2 separate regions of the Homo sapiens genome follow, and region 2 is linked to region 1. Evidence: promoter capture Hi-C in human tissues and cell types (Jung and others, 2019). All regions are on one chromosome and are shown on one strand. Each heading gives the region's core, a stretch centred on a gene start or on the middle of the fragment in contact. The rest is flanking DNA. Distances are from core to core; before and after follow the strand shown.

Evidence for each region. Contacts are between HindIII fragments. The study calls those that stand out against the background at their distance.
Region 2: a contact is called between a fragment that was not itself captured here and the fragment with the promoter of PPA2 in region 1, in 1 of the 25 tissues and cell types used here (dorsolateral prefrontal cortex).

What each region holds. Positions count from the first base shown.
Region 1 is chr4:105,468,821-105,475,311 of GRCh38, forward strand. It overlaps PPA2 (inorganic pyrophosphatase 2), which reads right to left and starts at 5,242. Exons shown (of 12, transcript NM_176869.3): 1 at 5,074-5,242. The coding sequence starts at 5,230. RefSeq lists enhancers at 4,423-4,592, 4,883-5,002 and a silencer at 5,223-5,432. The HindIII fragment of the contact is 4,779 bases long and covers 3,935-6,491 here.
Region 2 is chr4:104,051,707-104,058,197 of GRCh38, forward strand. No RefSeq gene overlaps it. Among named protein-coding and RNA genes, the nearest start is that of LINC02503, 93 kb to the left of the region's middle. The HindIII fragment of the contact is 9,123 bases long and covers 1-6,491 here.

The sequences.
Region 1 (6,491 bases), core at 3,992-6,491:
TTTGTGTACTATTTGTAGTACAACTTAAACTAATCCCCCTGTGTTAAGTTCTACATCCATCTAACTCTCTATCCTATCTTATATCAACACACCCACAACCTCTCTGAGGTTCTGCAGCAGCTCGGCTTTTCCCTAAACTACGTCCCCTGAACACATATACTTAAGCTGGGACTTCTTCCACACTGCTTCATTAATAACCATATCTCCATTGGTTTTTTAATCTTTTATACATATTTCAAAATCTCAAGCTTTGGTGGCTCCTTATCTGTTGTTTTAGGGTTACCCTTTCTTATCCTCACTTACTATCACTTTAATAGGATATTTATTATAGGGGAAAAGAGATAAATGATTGTAGTCACTGTGTCATTTTTGCCATGGTATTTCACTGTCGTCAAAAATCAGATTGTGTCCTTAGGCATTAATTGCTAACCTCTATCAGGCCCATCAATCTACACGATATTGCCAAACAGTGGTCAAAATTCTCCCTTCAACTGGTCTGAAATCAGATTTTATTCTAGCATTTTCTAAGTTATCTATGTGATTCTTTCTCTCACAAGAGCAAGTTGTATCAGGATGAAAGTTTATTACTTACACTAGAGCAAGTGAGAAAATTGAATGGAATGTGAAAACCATACCTAATTTTATGTATCTATACCAGACAGCTAAATGTATGCCATATACCAACATATGATTACACACGACTACAAAACCACTTATAGAGATTCTTACTGGAAGCTTCAGCAATGACTAAAGCTAACTTTGTTTTATTTTCTGATAAAAAGATTAAGAAATGTAAAGGAGCCTAAAAACTTCAATAAAAATGCTTCCTCTGTTCCATATAGATCACACAATTCCTATTTCACAGCACTGATATAGAAAACGTTTAAGGTTTTAAGGACTGAAAAATCAAATAAAATACTTTTTCTATATTCACACAAAACCCATTGTGTTCCATTATATCAGTTGAAGTTCTATGATATAGGCCAACTTTAAAAAGTTACAGAAACTCATATTTAAGACTCAAACAAATTTTGTGGATTATTCACGGGAAGTTCTCTTTTAAGTCCAAAGATACAGCACTTTCAATGGCAGATTCCTCCTACTACCCAAATGACATAAAGAAAACCTACAGTAATTTCAACACAAGCACATGCTTACTATAAGTGACAAAGCAAATTAATTTTAAAGAACTGCTTGGTTCATTCCCAGACTAAATAAAAGCAACTTGAATTATCCACAGCACTATTTCTCTAAGTAAACCAGTTGCCTATCCCATAATAACAAAATTCCTAATTATGGAAAGCATAGCTTTTCCCTATCCTATGAGAACAGTATGAAATCTAAAATAAAATTTCAAGTTATTAACGAAACAAAACAAACAAAAACACGCAAGATATCAAAGGAATACTGGCATGCAGCATTAGGTCTTTGGCTCAATATAAGTGAGTCTAACTTCATTATGATTTCACAGTTAATTTAAAAGACTGCAAGTACCCATTAAAACTTTAAGACCTAGGAAGCCGGGCACAGTGGTGCATGCCTGTAGTCCCAGCTACCCAGGAGACAGAGGTGAGAGGATCGCTTGAGCTGGGGAAGTCAAGGCTGCTGTGAGTCGTGATTGCACACTGTGCTCCAGCTTGGGCAAAAGTATGAGACCCCATCTCTAAACAAACAAACAAACCAAAAAAATAAAAATAAAATGAATAAACAACAACAACAAAAAACCTTCTGAAACCTATAAATTAACAGGAACACTTCAAAATAATCAATCACATCACCTTATTTTCTCCCTTCACAGAATCTAATAATAAGGATTTTAGTCTAATGTCTTAAAGTCAAAAGGGAAAAATAAATAACATTTATTAAATACCTATCACGTGTGAGACACTGATAATTACACACATAGTCTCATTTAACTGCCACAGCAATTCTATAAAATTACTAGTGCTATCCCCATTTTATTTACGGAGAAACTGAGCTACCGGATGTCATCTGAAGGTAAGGGATGCCTCTGGTTAATTCAGTCGAGTGACTTGTCCAAGACGGTAAAGTCAGGACTACAACTTAAGTGGTTTGACTATTAGTTTAGAACTGTTACAGCACAGTTGCTTCTGGAAGTTGCAGAAATCATAACCCTGATGTCACTAAGATGTTAACAAATGTTCTGAGAAATAAGTACTCTGTGGTTCAGTTTTTGGAGAAGTTACATCCGAATTTTCCAGAACTTAAATAGGCAAATTCTTCTTCAAAAAAGTAATAAAATGGGAAGTGTTCTAATTTATTAAACCATGAAACCCTCTGTTTTAACGAAAACCTAATAATATACCATGGGATGCTTGTGTTCAACTAAGCAGTCTGGAAAATGATCATCTGGTCCAATCTCCTCATTCCATGGTTTTAAAAAATGAGATGCAGGGAGGTGAAGTGACAGCAAGATACTAACAGGGTCAGGGCTGGCACCAAGGAGGCCTGATGATTCCCATCAGGATACCCTTTCCCCTAATCATCCTGTCTCACTCTTTCTACAAAGTTTAACACCAATTTTTTTTTAAGTATTACATCAATCATTTATTCTGATTTTACTGAATGACAGTAAAGAGAAACCATTTACAGACATGAAGCTCGAAAATGTTCTACCTCCCAATGCACTAGTATTTCAGAGACTTGGAATATATTTGGAGATGTGGAAAATGATTACACTTTAGTAACACTGAGTAACAATTTTAGGCCAAGTATACTACACTCATATTTTTTTTGAAGTGAGACATTAGTCCACCCTAGTACTGCATACAGACACACTGAGTAATAAATATCCAATCTGTGATCATCTTTATAAAGGGCAATTTATTCGTTGCTTTCCCCTTACCCCATTCGCCCTAGAGTGGCTTCGTTTCACTTTGCCCTACCCCTTCTAGCAGGTAGTAAACAGTCCTGGCCAGTGATGCCATCTGGCGGTTAGTTCAGAAATTGTTTAACCAACACACCTTCCAATCAGGATCTTACCATCGGGACCCTCTCCAAAACCACACTCCCCTTTCTTCCAGTTTTTGCCCATTTACCTTAGTAAAATCGGGTTTTCTTCTTTCCTGCCCTGTTTATCCAACTGAATGAAAAACGTATTTTATTTGTGGCACTCTAGTTACAGAAAAATCATGAGTCCTAAGTACATTTGCAGCTAAAGAAACAAACCAACAATAAGAGGCCAACATACTCCCAAAAATGCCCCCATTCGACATCCTGTCTTAACAGAGACTGTTAGAATCTCCGTTATTCATCCAATGCCTTCAGGGAATACCAGTGCTGAGAAGGACCTTGAGGATCATCGTTTCAAGGTCAAAAGCTTCATTTTACAGCTGAAGAAACTGGCTCTGTGAGAAAGAACTGAAGTAACCACCCACCCAACAGCACACAGCGAGTTAACGGCAGAGCCAAGATTATGGCCTAGGACTCCCCATTCCAAATCCGGTACTGGGTCAACTACTCTGTGCGCTCCTGGCTTCTCAAGCCTGTTTTTGCTCAACCAGTGTATTTACTTTTTCCATAATTATAGTAATATTGTGAATCTCTGTACTATGCCTAACAGTGTCTAGCACACTTCATAAATATTTATTATTTGGGTATCTATTAATTACCGTACTTATTGCAAATCTAGAATACTTGCAGTAGACAGGCCTTTTTTCAATCTGCTTAAAAAGCGAACTGCCACTTCATAATTTTTTCTGACTATTCCCATTAATCATCACATGGTAACCTTTTAGAACATAATCCATTCAGAAATTTGAGACTTCCTGTTCACCTGATCAGTCTTAACCAAAGATAGAAGAAAATATGTGGCATAGGGTGAAAACTGCAACCAATTTTGAAGAAAATAGAAATTCTAGTACTAGTTGCATTATAATCACACGACTTTAGGCAAACTCTTCTTTCCCACAAAATAATCCTCGACCCTAAACTCATGTAGCATAACTGCAAATCTCTCATAAATTACAAATATCTATAATGATTATCGGTATTAACAATAGTAATTTATATTTTAGGCCCTGTGACTAATCAGTTTACATATATAATGTCATGTAATACTTGCAGCCCTATTTTACGGATGAGAAAAAACAAGGCTTAGCAACTTAAACTCGTCCGGGGTCACAGAGTTAAGACGTGAAGAACTCGAGGGCCTGCTTAGAACTGAAAGCCTCCAGAGCCAGTGCTCCGAAAAGGGGAGCGATAATGCAAGGCCCACTTTGATACTACCACTCCAAGGCTCTGCAGTCAGTGGGGAGTGAAGGCAAGCGACCGACATCGCTATTTTCTGTTACGGTTAACGTACACAGTGAAACAATGGGGTACACGGAACAATGAGTCACGAAGACCTGGGTCCTTTCTCTGAGCTCGGCAACTCAGGGACCCCCCCGAAGTCGCTTAGCCTTCTGGGCTTGTTCAGCTTGGGGAGGAAAAGGGGCTGCTCCGGAACCAACGAGGCTTTGGATGGTGGATCACACTCAGGGTGTAAACTTGTGCGTACCAAGTCAAGCTTCTGGGGAAAGAACCTTCATCAGAGTCCCTCCAAAAAAAGAAGACGCGCTGGATTAGGCATCCGCAAAGTTCCGCCTGCCTCTCCGACGTCAGGGAGCTCCCGCAGTAGGAGGTTTCTTACGCCTCTAGGAAGGCCGGCGTGTGGGCGGGCTCTGCCTTCCCTTCCTCACTGAGTTGTGTGAACCGGGAACGGCGGCCGGGCCGGCTAATGGCTGCAGGCCGCCGCGGGGTGGCCGCTTGCACTCTGCCTACCCCTCGGGGAGGGCGGCTGGCAGGGCACAGGGCGCTATCTACCCCCCAGCCGGCAGCCCTGCGCCTCTGCTCTCCGCTTTGGGGTCTTGATCCGCCGCCTCCTCGCTGGCAGTTCTCGTGACTCGGTGCGCGCTCCCGCGGGAAGTAAGGTGGCCTGGACCGCGCGGCTACCGCTGAGGGCCCCAAAAAGAGAGAAGGGAGACCGCGCGGGGCGTCCCAAGTGTCCCCCATTCCATCCCCCACCCAGGTTTCTCCGGTGCGCCGCTCGGCGAACCTCCGGGAGCTACTTACTAAAGAAGAGGCGGTAATTCTGCGAGCAGGGCTGGCCGCGCTCCTCAGTGTGGTACAGGGCCATAGCACGGCGCGACCCGGTCCCTGCACTGGTCCCCAACCGCAGGCACGCAGCGGCTGGGGCACCCGTGCGCAGCAGCCGCAGCAGCGCGCTCATGGCGTCAATGACGGTCCTGCTGTGCGCGCGGAGCTACCTGGGGGCTCGGCCGGGCCGCACGCCGGTGCCCCCTACCGTCCGGAGTCATCCCTCCCGCCCCGGCGCTCGGGCTGCGATCCTGGTCCCTGCCAGTGGAATCTGGAACACCAGCCAGTTGTGCGCACTATGCCCTCAGCGAGGCCGCAGCTCAAAGACGAGTGAGACAAGACCCACCACCCCTGAAGAGCTCACTGCCACTCGTTAATTCATACATTTATTCATGCCTTCATTTATCCCGTCAAGAATTACTATCATGATTTTTTAGTATAGTGATGTAATATTGAGTGATTACTCTGTGCCAGGAACTGCTCTAGACCCTGTCCAATATAGGAGATGAGCGCACATGCACGCAAAGACATCACTATAAGACAAAATGATCAGGCCACCACGTGAAAACGGGACGTTGACACCGACTTACAGAGCAAAAAACCCTAAGTAGCTTACTCAAATGCCATCTTCTCCATAAGGCCATTTCCTAACCCAGTAGAGATTATTTATTCTTTCTTTTATTTTATTATTTTTTGTTGTTGTTTTGTTTTTGAGACGGAGTCTCACACTGTTGCCTGGGCTGGAATGCAATGGTACAATCTCGGCTCACTGCAACCTCCGCCTCCTGGGTTCAAGCTATTCTCCTGCCTTAGCCTCCTGAGTAACTGGGATTACAGGCATGCGTCACGACGCCTAGCTAATTTTTGTATTTTTAGTAGAGACAGTTTCCCCATGTTGGTCAGACTGGTCTCGAACTCCCGACCTCCATTGATCCGCCTGCGTTGGCCTCCCAAAGTCCTGGGATTACAGGCGTGAGCCACCGCGCATCGGCCAGGCGGGGTGGCACACACGCCTGTAGTTCCAGCTACTTGGGAGGCTGAGATAGGAGGATGGTTTGGGCCAGTATCCAGGAGAATGGATATTGTAGAACAACCAGTAGTCTGCCACGTGTCATTTTATTTTTTTCTAGTCCATCTTCTTTGGGACTATCATCATCTAGGCTACTTTCCTACTGGGCACCCAGGTTCTTTCAGCATCTCCAATTATCGTGTGATCATTAAAATTGAGATACTGGTCTACCCAAGTTCCAGAAAGGATTCCTAGGAGATATTGTGACTAGCTACTTAGAGACACTCTACTAAGATTATAGATCCTAAAATGTTTTTGTCAACAGTGGTACCTTTGTAATGTGTCAACTTGAATAGGCATAACTATAAGGCAAATGCTCCCATAA
Region 2 (6,491 bases), core at 999-3,498, 1.4 Mb before region 1:
TTATAATAAAGATACTGAAATATTGCCTACTTGAAACAGTAACTCATTCATTTCTTAGGCACTATTTTTTTTAACTTTCTGTTAAAGAACTCTGTGAAAACAAGTATTTGTTTCTGATTTTTGGGTCCCATTTTCTTCCTTTAAATCTACCGAATCCAGCAATCCAGGGAAGTCATTGAATTCAACTGTCAAGTAAGACGTATTTGTGTTTTCTTAAGTTGAAGTCTGATTGCTTTATTAGCAATGGGAGTTTATGATGAACATATTTTTCCATTAAAGTAAGGAAATGTGATACAAAATGTGATGGAGTGATCTCAGGTAAAGATATTAGAGTATTTTTGAATAGAATACGCCTCAGCAAATACAGTTCTTCCTTCTTTATTTTTTAAATCTATGATATTATTTGTTACTTACTTGGGATATTACTATTTATCTCAGAAAGAGATATTCCTTAGATACTTAAGCTGAACGTCTTGGTGACAGAAAACGTTGATTAGTATGATAGAAAATGAGGATTATTTTCTAACTTCAATTGTGTAGATGTAAAATCTTTTTAATGGAAGAGAATAATTATTCATTATGGTGGCAAATTTGCTCAGAGGAGAAAATATTTTATCAGCAGACAAACTGACTCATGGCATAATCCTCTAACTACAAGGTACCCCAGAGGGGAGGGTAGAGGCATATTAAATCAGAACTTGGTATCCAACTATATAATGGCTGGATATCGCCTGTCTATTATTTTTAGTTTCCTTATCCCATGGCTTTTCCTTAATCCTTTTAAATTGAAAATTATTCTTATATTAAAAAATAAAATGTTCCATAATACAGGAAGGAAAATAGATTACTGAATTAGACAATAAATGGTAGTTTTAACTACGAACTAAGTAACTCAGATTTATTGAGCAGCTACAGACAGACACAATGTATTAAGTCATTCAGTCCCACAACATTCAGAGGCTTTGAGAGGTAAAGGGCCTTGTCAATACTATACAGTTTATAAAATATAAGAGCCAGTGTTCAAATCTGGTGGATTTGGCAAAATCTAAATCTAGATTGTTTGGTAAAATCTAAATCCTATATTCTTTCCAGAATACCATATTTCATATTTTGCCTTGTATGTACTTTAAACATTTACTCTAAAAGTCTTTCAACTAATATTATCAGGGTCTTTTTAGTAAAAGAGATATGCTTTTTGCTCTAAAACTGTTTTTGCTAAGGGATAGAAGTGTGGAGTTTGCTAAGCTCTAAAATAAAATAGTAGCATTACCAAATTATCTGAGTTTTTCCAAAATATTTTACCAGATATTTAAAACAGCCGTATAATTAGACTAGAGACTTCTCAGGTCATGAAAGAATTTTTTTCTGGATAACTATAGTCCTTAATTGAATAATATGATAAATGAAAATTGATACGCTTAATTTTACATAGTTGTATTATCATCCCTACATCTTTGCCCTCCAGACACTTGGTCTCCTAAGATAGCCAGCTAATTACCAGGTCTCCTTGTGGTGCCTTATCCAGGCTAGTCTTCCTTGAACATCACCTCTTCCTCTCAACCTTTCCCATGCTCTTCCATGCAGTAGTGTTCTCTGGACAATTTCTGCAACTGCAAAATGATCTGATAAACAAATTTTTGGTTCGATATTACTATGTAACCCTTGATTAATTGAGACATGTATTACTCTCCTGAGAATATTGGCATTTGAGCAGAGAATACTGAGGATACAATGTGCAATCTAAGAATGGCTGTCTAATCAGGCAACTTGTAAGAAGTTTCTTTTTTTTTTTTCTTGCAGAAAGATCTTTTTTGCACCTGTACCACAAATCAAATAATGTAGAATGTTTAAAAGTAAAGATAAAACGATCCTTTTATATTATTTAGTTCAACCATCTTAGTGCACAAAGGGGAAAAAATGTCCAAAGTCCCACACTTAGTGGTCATTCCAGCACTTGAGTTTTGATTACAAATTCAATGTGCTTTTCCCAGTACAAAGCTTCCCTTGTATCTTGTTCCACTTATTTGTAATGCCGATCCACATGTCAATTTCTGCTAATTGCTGGTCCTTCTTTGAGACTGGTTTCCAGAGACTTTTAAAATAGGTCTGGTAGTATATGATTATAATACTTCTAGGAAAATAATTAAGTAACACCATGTAACCCTGACAATCAAGAAAATGCTACTCTAATTGATCACTACCCTCTTTCTACCAACTTTGTTCAATGTATTTTGTCATCAGTCTTCCTACATATAAAAGGGTGGATTAATGGTTCCTTATTATTTTTGGAAGTCTAATAGCCTTGCCCACTTCAGCCTCTGTGTTCCTCTGTCTCTGGCTGCTGGACCTACCTAATCCTCACCTATAGGGAGCTTAATAAAGACCCAGGGACCAGCCTTGACCCCAGGTTATAAGAAGGGAGAAATGTAATTTAAGGATGCTTATGTCAGCAGATAGATGCTGAATTATCCAGTCAATCTTGTTGTGCTTTTGCTGTCAATTTGAACCCCTTTGGCCAAGTTTTCTGCCTTAATCAAAAATCATGAGGTGATGGGTCTTCAACCTACTTGCATACAGGCAAGTGGTCCAGCATTGTGATTTTTTGCAAAATCCTGCCCAATCTTTAAATATGTGGTATAAAGTTATTTCTTGAAGGGAAAGTGACCACATTTCTCTGTGTCAACCTGAAGCAAAAAATGAATATAATAAATTTTCCCTATATCTATTCTTTAGAACTCTTATCCCACAACATGCTCTATGAGAGATATATTTCTTGTTCAAAATATTTGGGGTAATACCTGCCTTTTTCCTTTCCTACCTTTGGAGATTCCTAATATATATTGAACTCTCTAAGAAGTCTTGAAATAATAAAACATGCATAAATGTTTACCCTAATGTGTGTTCTTGTTTTGTTTGATTTATCTGAGAACACAATAATATTTTTATATAACAGTGGTGAATTGTTACTCTTGAGGAAGCAGCATTGCTGGTTTTATCTATGGGAGAATTTTCATAGTTGGTACAGGACATGAGTAGCACATACACTAGATTTGGCCCTTGGCCCTAAACCTCCCTGGGCAACCTTCCAGCACTGAGTATTCTGTCCATAGGTCTTTTTATTTCTCTGACCTCAAGATAGAAAGTCCAGTTTCATTCATATTTTTATATCTGATTTAGAAATTAAAGGGAAAAAACCCACATATTTTATACCTACTTTGTGTCCAATACTATGCTAAAGTCTTGTCATATATAATCGTTTAAAAATAAAATTTTGTTAGTAAAAAGCAAGTAACACAGGGTAAAAAGTTTTTTTTTTTCTATTAAAAATCAGATTTCAAACACTGACTCTACCAGCTGAAAACTAAAACAAGAGTAAGTCACTTTATCTTCTTGAGGTTTTGGTTTTCCAAAACCTCAAGAAGTTTTTTGTCTTAGTTTTTTTTTTTTTTTTTTTGTCTTAAATTTTTATTTTAAATTTATGTGTGTGTGTAAGAGAGATACAAAAACAATGTGGGTGCTGACAGATAGTGGGTATACCAGGCTTCCATTCATGTCAAAACTTGAGTATAAGTACTACTTGTATAAACCAAAATTTTCTAAGCTCTCAAAGAAAGTAACATAGCATTCTCTATACTTATCATTTTATAGTTGGTGTTACATAACTCAATTCACCTACAGAAGAAGTATATGCTTCATTTAAATTAGCTGAGCTTAAAATTTATGAAGAGGTAAGCAGCCTGATGATGTAATTGTGCCTTCTTTACTCCAATTCCACCTCCTGTGGTACAGACAGGTGTTCCATCTAGAGTGTTGCCATTCATGCTTAGTCAGATTCAATTCCTTTTAACCATTTTCTCAATGAAACAAAACTGTAATGACTGTTCATATATCTTAACTAGCAATATTGTTATTCCTCCTATGAATGTTGGTCATATTTTCTTTCCTTCATTTCTCTTTCTTGAATCCTCCTTTTAATCCCATTTAATCTCAGAAGTTATACACATTAATTCTTAGATCTTAATGTCTCTTCTACTTTCTCTTGTGGGCAGCTTGCAGGGTAACATAATAGCCAAGGTTTTTCACACAATGAAGAGTAAGAAATTCTAAAAATAAACTGGATATGTTTGCTAATATCAGATGTCCTGAGGATTCAATAGGAAAAATGGTTGGTGGTTCAATTATTCAATGTTTTTATCACTATAGATTTTATTTATATTGTGTGAGGTAATACAGCTTAACCATTAAGTCAAGTAAGTCTGGATTTGTGTTCCATTTTATTACCGATTGTGTGATATTGAATAACTTAGCAAGTCTCTCTAATCCTTAGTTTTTTCATGCAAAAGATGCACAAGGTTGTCATGAGAACTGAAAACACATTACTACACCCATTTTCTACATTAATTTTCCAAAATATTTATCTAAATTACTGTACATTTTTCTCATTTGAGTACTATCCACCGTTAATATTTCATCAGAATAGTTATTTTTGTTTGTTTATTCATCCTCTATACCCCGGAATCTAGGACAATGCCTAACAAATAGAAGGAACTTAGTAAAGAGCTATAAATGAATGAATAAAATATACAAATGTAGTTTTAATATACAAATTTGGGATATTATCATTAGCATGAAAATAGTTAACAATCCTCCCCAAAACCTTATTATTCCCATTTTAGTAATAAGGAAACTGAGGATCAGAGAGGTCACATGGTAAGAACTGGGAGAATAAGTACTCATTTCATCCCTTGCTTAGTTCAGAATCCAATGCATACCTACATTTTTCAACTTGGTAAATAAACATCTGTAGAGAAGGGTCTTAGTTCAGCTGCCTGAGAGGTAGAGCCTGAGATAAGTAATTTTGTACAAGCACTCCTGGAGTGTTCTCAGTGAAAACCTTTAAGGAAATAAATCAAAGTGAGATGATGCAGGCCAAGGAGCTAAGCAAAAATATGGTTTCACTGAATCTAGACAAGCGTGATCCCATGGGGAGCTCTGGAGTGTGAATGGCACCATAGAATTGTCCTGGCTTGAAGTGGCTTTGGGGCTGGAATATCTTATCCTGAATCAGTCAGTGATTGCTAGGTTTTGCCTTCTCCAGAGAGTGTTTACATTCTCATGCATCTTCTGGTGAGACAAATTCTGTAAGCCAAGGGCAATTTTCCACAGATGGGTGTAATTGTACCTATCATTACTGATACTCATAACCAGTAGGTGATAGGTGCATTGGCTTCATAAAGGGAATCCAGGCAAAGCACCAACAGCCACTGTCAAAAGGGAGCTGGTAAACCTGAGTCAAATAGTGATTTTTCTCCTGGCTACTATACATTCATTTTAGTCCAGCAGCTTACATCCTTACTTCCTTATTATCCTAAGATAAACTTATGTATCAGATTTTCATTTTGAGCAGTGGTGAATTAAATAAAAGAAGTGAAGGGAAATTAAGGAAACATTGTGACAGTAGCCACTTTATCATCAACAGTAATATTTTATTATTGGTCCTACTTTGAACATATGTCATAGTCACCAGTCACTGGACTTAAACCCCTCTCCTATTATTATAAGGTAACTGACATCTAGAATTATCCCATGTTTTGTACTTGTCGGTTCTCCAATTCAAGTCTGCTCTATGAATGTCCACCTGTATCTTTTTGTTTAGAACTTTTACTGAATGCCTACGCTGTGGAACTTACCCAGTTGTGCTTACAGCTTTGAACTATTTCCTCTGTTTGGAATGCTTCTCTCCCTGAGCATGATAATGTATCACCTCTAGTCTCAGAGACATCACCCAATTCTTCAGATCAGCCTGACTTTAAGCCCAAGCTCCCCAGGTCCTGTGGCCAGTAGCTCCCAGTGATGCCAGCATATTTCTTTCCAGAATCCTGATCACAGTGGCTTTCTTATGGAAAAGACACTAATTTACATTTTTCAAATAATCATAAAATATTCTGCAATGGAAAGTATGTAATTATACAGAAAAGGTTAATCCTAAAATTGTAGACCCCTTAGGGACTTTTTACTTGCCCATTGCAACCCTCCTAAATGTCAATAAAATCACAATCTGTAAATTAGAAAGTGAGAAACCACCTCCAGAGACAGCTGAGGTTTGGATGAACCACAAGGAAATGACTTTTGCCTGGAGGCCAAGTAATCTTAGTTAAAGGGCAGGGAACTCTGGTGAGCATTATTTTGACTTGTTGAAAGGGACCATGGGTTTCATAAAAATAAATCTTTTACTTTCTAATATACTGCACTGAAGACACCGGTGTTACTTATATTTGAAAAATTTCGATGTAAACTTGCATTTGGATTTTGTGATAGAGAATAATAACAACAACAACAGCAATGAGACAATAACAATAGCAACAAAATCTAACTGTAGTAATAATAATATGGTGAAGAAGAAGATGGAGGAGGAGAAGGTGAAGGAAAAGAAGAAACTACTGCTGCTGCCATCACCACCAGATAAACTTTTCTTGAAATAGATGACCAAA